Regions from separate parts of the Homo sapiens genome. Here region 2 is linked to region 1. The links are contacts of gene promoters, found by promoter capture Hi-C in human tissues and cell types (Jung and others, 2019). All regions are on one chromosome and are shown on one strand. The core of a region is centred on a gene start or on the middle of the fragment in contact, and the rest is flanking DNA. Distances in the headings are between cores, read along the strand shown. Region 1 holds the start of ZSCAN2 (zinc finger and SCAN domain containing 2). Region 2 has its middle 81 kb from the start of MIR7706.

What was found. The method cuts DNA at HindIII sites, captures the fragments that hold promoters and counts their contacts. A contact is called where the count stands out against the background at its distance.
Region 2: a contact is called between a fragment that was not itself captured here and the fragment with the promoter of ZSCAN2 in region 1, in 1 of the 25 tissues and cell types used here (hippocampus).

Annotation. Positions count from the first base shown.
Region 1 is chr15:84,598,782-84,602,995 of GRCh38, reverse strand. ZSCAN2 (zinc finger and SCAN domain containing 2) reads right to left here and starts at 1,987. Exons shown (of 3, transcript NM_181877.4): 1 at 1,861-1,987. It overlaps LOC105370947 (a long non-coding RNA gene), which reads left to right. Exons shown (of 4, transcript NR_186225.1): 4 at 3,193-3,562. RefSeq lists a silencer at 1,620-1,769 and an enhancer at 2,090-2,139. The HindIII fragment of the contact is 21,972 bases long and covers 1-4,214 here.
Region 2 is chr15:85,297,155-85,301,368 of GRCh38, reverse strand. No RefSeq gene overlaps it. Among named protein-coding and RNA genes, the nearest start is that of MIR7706, 81 kb to the left of the region's middle. The HindIII fragment of the contact is 7,430 bases long and covers 1-4,214 here.

The sequences.
Region 1 (4,214 bases), core at 738-3,237:
CTTTATCTTAAAAAAATAACCAAAAAATCGAGTCCTTAAAAATCCAGCAGCAGGGAATGGCTAATAAACTATGACACACCCATATAGCAGCATGTATTAGAAACTGTGCTATAGGCTTGGCGTGGTTGCCTGTAATCCCAGCACTTTGGGAGGCCTCGGCAGGCGGATCACTTGAGGTCAGGAGTTCGAGACCAGCCTGGCCAATATAGTGAAACCCCGTCTCTACCAAAAATACAAAAATTAGCCAGGCATGGTGACGGGCGCCTGTAATCCCAGCTACTCAGGAGGCTGAGGCAGGAGAATTGCCCGAACCTGGGAGGAGGAGGTTGCAGTGAGCCGAGATCGTGCCACTGCACTCCAGTCTGGGCGAAAGAGCCAGACTCTGTCTCAAAAAAAAAAAAAAAAAAAGAAAAGAAAAGGAAAAAAAAGAAAAGAAACTGTGCTATAATAATGGCTACCTTTAGGTGGTAATGACAGGAAAGGGGCTCAAAGGAGCCTTCTGGGATGATGGAAATTTTCAATATCTTCATTTGGCAATGGCGGCACAAGAGCAAACATATGAAATTTAAGATCTGCACATTACGCTGTATGTTTTTAATATTTTAAAAATTATATTGACAAAGATTAATCATTAATGATTTAAGATAATCCTTCTGATAGGAAAATAATGGATAAACACAAAATCAGCAGGGCAGAAAAACCATAGACACAGTAAGTCCTCAATTCCCTTTAAAAATGAACTCACAGCCGGGCGCGGTGGCTCAGACCTGTAATCCTAGCACTTTGGCAGGTTGAGGCGGGCGGATCACCTGAGGTCGGAAGATCGAGACCAGCCTGACCAACACGGAGAAACCTCGTCTCTACTAAAAACAAAATTAGCCAGGCGTGGTGGCGCATGCCCGTAATCCCAGCTACTCCGGAGGCTGAGGCAGGAGAATCGCTTGAACCCGGGAGGCAGAGGATGCGGTGAGCGGAGATCAGGCCATTGCACTCCAGCCTGGGCAACAAAAGCAAAACTCCGTCTCAAAAAAAAAAAAAAAAAAAAATGAACTCACAGGAAAAAAGAACGGGACGGCACCTACAAAATATTGAAAGCAGTGGAATTGCAAACGACTTAAAATATTATAAAAGCAATACAAAATTATTTTTAGCCCAAGCGCTGTAGCTCACGCCTGTAATTCCAGCACTTTGGGAGGCCGAGGAGGGAAGATGGCTTGAGGCCGGGAGTTCATGACCAACCTGGGCAACAGAGTGAGACCCAGTCTCTACAAAAATAAAAAAATTTTTTAAAAAATCATTACTACATCATAAAGACTCAACTAACAACCCTCCCTCAATGAAAAGGGGAGAAAAGCTGACAAAAGCTTAAAAAAAAAAGGACAAAAAATAAAAGCTAGTGGGAAAACCGAAGCTCTCAACGTGTATTTACTCAAATGACTAGAAGAAATACTGGCATATGGTGTAAGAGAACTCTTCCTACTTGGGAGCCTGGGAAAAGTGTGCCAGGTCAGCTAATTTGCGGTCTGACTTGGGGCACGACACGCCCCCTCTGAACCTCAGTTTCCCCATCTGTAAAACGTGTACGCTGCGCGGGATGTCGTCGAATGCCCCTTCCCGTCCAAAGCCTGCGCTTCTCGGTAGGAGAGGCAAGGAGCTCTCCGCCAGGGAGACGCGTCCGGGACGGTTCGCTGAGCGGAGCCGGCGCGTAAATCGGGGCTGCAGGGCCCGCAGGATACGGAGCGCGACCCCGACGCCCCTCCCCCAGCAGAGCTGCCGGCAGCTGGCTCCAGGCCCACTATTCCCTCACCTCGGGCTACTGCCCGGGGTCCGCGTGGCTCCAGGCCTGCCTCTCCGGCTCACCTCTCGGGAGACCAGGTCCTGCTCTAGCGGTTGCTTCGCGTGCGAAAGCGCCCCCGGGCTCGGCCCGGCCCCTCCAGATTCACCCCGGCTCAAGCCCGTGGGGCACCGAGAACAATGGACGGGAGAGGCCCGCCCACCGCCGCGCTCATTGGCTGCCGAGAACGGCCCTGGAAATTCTGCCTTTCTGTTGGTGGAGACGGCACCCAGCCGGGCGGCAGGAGGGAGGCTGGGCCCAAGGCATTGTGGGAGATGTAGTCCGCCCGGAGACGAACCTGACCGCGGTCCCCGGAGTAGGGTTTGGGGCTGACAGCCTGGGCAGTGCCTGCGGACCAGAGGCAGGAAAATCCGCAGACTGACCGTCAGAAACCCTGTGTTGGCTAGAGCTGTAACCCGAGACAAGCCGTTTCACTTATCTAAGGCCTCTGTATATTTGTCTATAAAAAGTGAAAGTTGGATGGCCGGACTTGAAGGACCTTTTCGGCTGCGAACCTTGTGGCAAGGAGTATTGTTAGGCACCCTCGACCGGCGAGAGCGGACCCTGGGCAGGAAGGGAATCCATGGGGGAACAAATCCTCATCGCCCAAGCCTGGCGCCTTTCCCCCAGTTTGCAGCTGTACACATGCACCCGGTCTTCGCACACCCCTTTGTTTTCGCACGTGGTATTCCTGTGTTTGGAGGAACGCCCTGCCCCGCCTCCTCTGCCGCGGAACTCCCATTCTTCCAGCTTCTCCTGGGTGGAGCCTGCCCTGTCATCACCACCTCCCCAGGCAGAGACACCGCCCCTAGTACACGTGTTGGACGTCCCCATTTTATTTTTTAAATATATATATGTATGTATTTGTATATATATATATATATTTATTTATACACACACACTCACAGACAGGATCTACATTTCATAGAGACAGGGTTTCCATATGTTGCCCAGGCTGACCTCGAACCCCTGGGCTCAAGCGATCCTTCCTCCTCAGCCTCCCAAAGTGCTGGAATTACAGGTGTGAGCCACCGCACCTGGCTGACGTCTCCATTTTAGTACTGATCACCGGGTTGCTTACTTGTCAATCTCAGTATGGGGGAAGGGAGGGTGCCCGGGTGTGGGAGGTTGGCCTCCATCTTTGTGTTTTACGGCTGGCGCTGTTGAAGAAACGGCTGCCCCAACCCTGCTTGAAAACAGGTGAGAAACTACCTGGAAACTCAAGCGGAAAATCTAAAAATGGAGAGAGACACCCTTAATGGTCTGTGATAGAATAGTTATGTATGTTTGCACTGAGCAATTACTGGAGGCACCTGCAATGAAATGACTGCTTTTTTTTTTCCTCCTCTGTCGCCCAGGCTGGAGTGCAGTGACACGATCTCGGATCAAGTGATTCTCCTGCCTCAGCCTCCCAAGTAGCTGGGATTACCGGCGTGCGCCACCACACCTGGCTAATTTTGCGTGTTTTTAGTAGAGACAGAGATTTCACCATGTTGATCAGGCTGGTCTTGAATTCCTGACCTCAGGTGATCCAGCCGTCTTGGCCTCCCAAAGTGCTGAGATTACAGGCATGAGCCACGTGCCCGGTCCTTTTCCCATTTTTAAATTGGATTTATTTGTAAGAGCTCTTTGTATATTAAGAAAATTATCCCTTTGTCACAGCAGTTGCTACTCTTTCTCAGTTTGCTGTTTGTTTTCTGCTGGTTTATTAAATATAGAAATTTGAAATTTTTTTGCAGTCAAATTTGTTAATCTTATCTTTTTATAGCCTGTGAGTTTTGTGTTAGAAAGTCCTCTGCACCACTCCAAAGATTATGTGAAATTCACCTGTTTTTCACTAATTAACCTCTTGAATCCAATTACAGAGATGCAAAGTGAAGTTCAGCTAGTGATTCTTATCCAATACCCTGGTAGCATCTTTATTATCCCAGACTGACCACATGCAAATAGCACCACCTCCAGGCCAGCCTGAGAAGTCTGCACTAAGCCCCTGGATGCAGAATTCTGGGCCACCACCCCTCCAAGTGATTTTTTTTGGGATGACATTGTATTAAAAAAGATGGGTTTCTCCATGTGTCCATCCTTACCAGGAATGGAAATTTACACAAAAAGGAAAAGATGCAGGGGAGGCTGGGGATGCACAGATGGAACTTTCCAGCAGCTCAAGCGTTTATTTACCTCTGTTCCTAACCCATGTCAACCCTTGACCACAGAACTGGCACTAGCTTGTCACTGGAGAGTCCTAAAGAAGCTGTCTCCTCTGTGTCTGATTCTGGGAAGCTGGTCCTTGCCAGTGTCAACTATCCTACATGAGACAGAGAGAAAGTCACATTTAAGACCAATTCATGGCATAATGATCCTACTGAGAAGGGCCCTGGTA
Region 2 (4,214 bases), core at 1,267-3,766, 700 kb before region 1:
AACTAAATGCAATGCCTGAGAAGAGACTGGGTTGTGTACTTGAGGTGGGGAGATGGGGGAAGAATGTAATAAAGGACATTACCAGGCCAGCTGATGAAACCAGGAGAAGAATGGAAGATTAATAAAAATGTATCATTGTTAAATTTATTAAAGTTGATAACTGAGCTGAGGGTTATACAAGAGAGTGTCTGTACTCTTAAGAAATGCACACTGAAGTATTTAGGGGTAAAGAGCACAGTATGCATACCATATCCTCAAGTGGTTCAGAAATAATTTTTTTTTTTTTTGAGATAGAGTGTTGCTCTTGTTGCCCAGGCTGGAGTGTAGTGGTGCAATCTAGGCTCACTGCAACCTCTGCCTCCCAGGTTCAAGCGATTCTCCTGCCTCAGCCTCCCGAGTAGCTGTGATTACAGGCGCTGGCCACCATGCCCCGCTGATTTTTTGTGTTTTTAGTAGAGACGGGGTTTCACCGTGTTAGTCAGGCTGGTCGTGAACTCCTGACCTCAAATGATCCACCTGCCTCAGCCTCCCAAAGCGATAGTACTACAGTCATGAGCTACCGTGCCCAGCTGCAGAACTATAACATTTTAATATCCTAATATTTTCTTTGTAATTCATGCATGTTAAAATGTTAAGATTATTTTTATTTTTAAATTTGTGTTATTATTTATTTATTTATTTATTTAGAGATAGGGTCTTAATCTGTTGCCCAGGCTGGAGTGCAGTGGTGAGATTTTGGCTCACTGCAGCCTGTAAGGCTTAAGAGATCCTCCTGCCTCAGCCTCCTGAGTAGCTGGGACTACAGGTGTGCACCATCACACCTAGCTAATTTTTGTGGTTTGTTTTTTTTTTTTTTTTTGTAGAGATGGTGTTTTGTCATGTTGCTCACACTGGTCTCGAACTCCTGGGCTCAAACCATCTGGCCACCTCAGCCTCCCAAAGTGCTGGGTTTATAGGCATGAGCCACCAAGCCCATTCTAAAATTTAAGATAAGAAAAAAAAAATCTATAACTTCTTAAATGGTTAGGGGAAAAGAGAGGGAATAAAGAAAACAAGATACCCTCCCTTTTCCAAAAAAGGGCAAGGAAACGAAAAGCATAAAAGTAGAAATACACAAAATAAATAGTGAAAATATATTTCACTATATTGCCAATCGCAGGGAATATAAGTATGTATAAAATATAAAACCATATAGAAGTCAAAACAAACTAATCAGATCTATATGTATCAACACAAACAAGTCTCAGACACATTGTACTGCGTTTATAAAATAAGATCCAAAAAGATATCATAGTAAGGGACCCGTTTGTAAATTTAAAAAATGACATAAAACAACGTTGTATATTGTTTATAGATACAAATATATGTAGCAAAATTATAGATGCAATAATACACACCAACTTAATGATAGTGTTTATTTCTGGAGATGAGAGAGGGCAGGAATGGGAGAAAGAGATGAGAGTAAATTTTTTTTTTTTGAGACAGGGTCTCACACCGTCGCCCCGGCTGGAGTGCAGTGGCACAATCTTAGCTCACTGCAACCTCCACCTCCCAGGTTCAAGTGATTCTTGTGCCTCAGGCTCCCAAGTAACTGGAATTACAGGTGTGTGCCACCACTCCTGATTAATTTTTGTATTTTTTTTTTTAAGTGAAGACAGGGTTTCACCATGTTGGCCAGGCTGGTCTTGAGCTCCCAGCCTCAAGTGATCTGCCTGCCTCGGCCTCCCTAACTGCTGGGATTATAGGAATGAGCCACTGCACCCGGCCTATGAGAGTGATCTTAACTGTATCTGCAATTTTTTCCTTAAAAAACAGAAAATAACAATTCTGAAACAACACATAACTAAAAGTTAATGTGTTACATCTGGGTTGACCACAAATGGGTGTCTGTTATATTTATTTCTGGATTTTTCTGTGCATTTAAATTATTTGATAATTAAATCTCTGTATTTTCTATTTCTTAATTACATTTTTCTAAGGACATAGAGAGGATGCAGTCCTGCTTTCACAGGTGCTGGCTGAGGTGCTTATTAAAATACAGCTACTAAAAATAGTGCCAGAACTATATTGAGTGGGGGGTTGCAGGTAAGGGAGCTGAGTCCTCATCTGTCATAGCAGGAAGACAATGCGTAATGTGTGATGCTGGTTATTTGTGGGCCTAGGGTCCCTCCCAGTTTCATGCTCTTCCCTGCTCCACTGAATCCAGTGGACTGCACTGTCCAGGCTTTCTTCCTAGCTGGCTTTTGGGGTTCAGCCAGTGGGAGGCTCTGTGGGAAGATGGGAGGGTGGGATTCAGCAGAGGTCAGGGTAGCTCTTTCCAGCTCTCTTCCTGCTTTGGCATGCTATATCTAACTGTAGCTGCATCCTAGGTACAACTCTTACTCACTGGGCTCTGATAAGTGTTTCCTTCCCTTGTCTCAATAGGCCCTGGAAGCGGGGAGGGTAGTAATAGCTTCTCACCATTGCTAGTCTCTAGGTGTCCTACCATACCTTGTTTGTTACCTTATCCAGTCCAGAAACTCTGTGAATAGTCCCTTCATTAAAGCCTTTTCATTTTAACCATCTGGGATGACACAAGAAACACTGTGAAAGGTAAAAATTGCTTTTGTTTGTTTGTTTGTTTGTTTCAGAACTCCTTTGCTGTGGATAAGAAGATTGACTAGGTGACTTGCTCCAAGTTCAAAGCCTGTTTGCATAAAACAACAACGACTTGTCTTTGTTCTGTTTGGTTATTTTGAGACAGGGTCTTGCTCTGTCATTCAGGTTGGAGGGCAGTGGTGCAATCATGGCTCACTGTAGCCTTGACCTCCTGGGGTCAGATGATTCTCCCCCCTCAGCCGCCTGAGTAGCTGGGACCACAGGTGCATGCTATCACGCCCAGCTAGTATTTTTAAATGATTTTTGTAGAGATGGGATCTCCCTATGCTGCCCAGGCTGGTCTTGAACTCCTGAGCCCAAGCAATCCTCCTGCCTTGGCCTTCCAAAGTGCTGAGGTTACAGGCGTGAGCCACCGCACCTGGTCACAACTTGATTTGAGAGCGTATGGTTGACAACATCTTGATGAAAAGGGATATGGCTGGCCAGGCATGGTGGCTCACACCTGTAATCCCAGCACATTGGAAGGCCAAGGTGGGCAGATCATGAGGTCAGGAGTTCAAGACCAACCTGGCCAACATGGCGAAACCCCATCTCTACTAAAAATTGAAAAATTAGCTGGGTGTGGTGGGGGGTGGCTGTAGTCCCAGCTACTCAGGAGGTTGAGGCAGGAGAATCGCTTGAACCCGGGAGGTGGAGGATGCAGTGAGCCGAGATAGTGCCACTGCAGTCCAGCCTGGGTGACAGAGAGAGAATCCATCTCAAAAAAAAAAAAAAAAAAAGGGATATGGCTGATACACACAGAAAGATCTACTCTCCTAAGACCTTGTGCCCCAAGAATTTTATGACTTCTTGGATGGTATCAATTGTGTTTTATGATTGATTTATTCATTTACTTGATAAGTTTTGATCGAGTGCGGCTCTGTACCAAGAACTGTGTCAAGAAATGGGGATACATTGTTGTGCGAGAGGAAGTCCTCATGTGCCAGGAATTTACAGTAGACAGGGGAAGATACGCAAACTCATTACGAAGAAATACGGTAAATGCGAGGGGAATGGAAGCAGAGGGTGCTCTGGAGTACTCAGGAGGATTATTCAGCCCAGCCTTATACTGTCAGGGATAGTTTCCCAAAAGAAAGGATATCTAACCTGAGAGCAGAAGAATAAATACTAGTTAGCCAAGTTAAGGAGGATGGGTAGATGGGAGGGAGTGAGTTTTAGTTTTAAGGCATTCTAGGTAGAGAGAAAAGCAATTTGGGCAAATCTGGTAGGGGATAAAAATCATTTGGGAAACTGAAAGTCAGCCTCTTGAGTTGATTGCAGGAGGAGAGGGTGAGATAAGTTAGGAGAAGAAAAACAGGGATCGGATCACAAAAAGCCTTTTAAGTAAGATTAAGGGCAGGGGTATTATTATGAGGTCAATACAAAGCCATTAGATCTTTTGAGTAGGTGGTATACAGTGTAATCGCATTTGCATTTTTAAAACATTATCTTGTCTATGCGGTGAGAATAAACTGGAGGTGGATAAGAGCAGAGGCAGCTCCCTTAGGAGGTTGTTGCTGTATCCTAGGCCAGAGATCATGAGTTGGACTTGAGGCTGGGGCTGGAGAGAAGCGGCC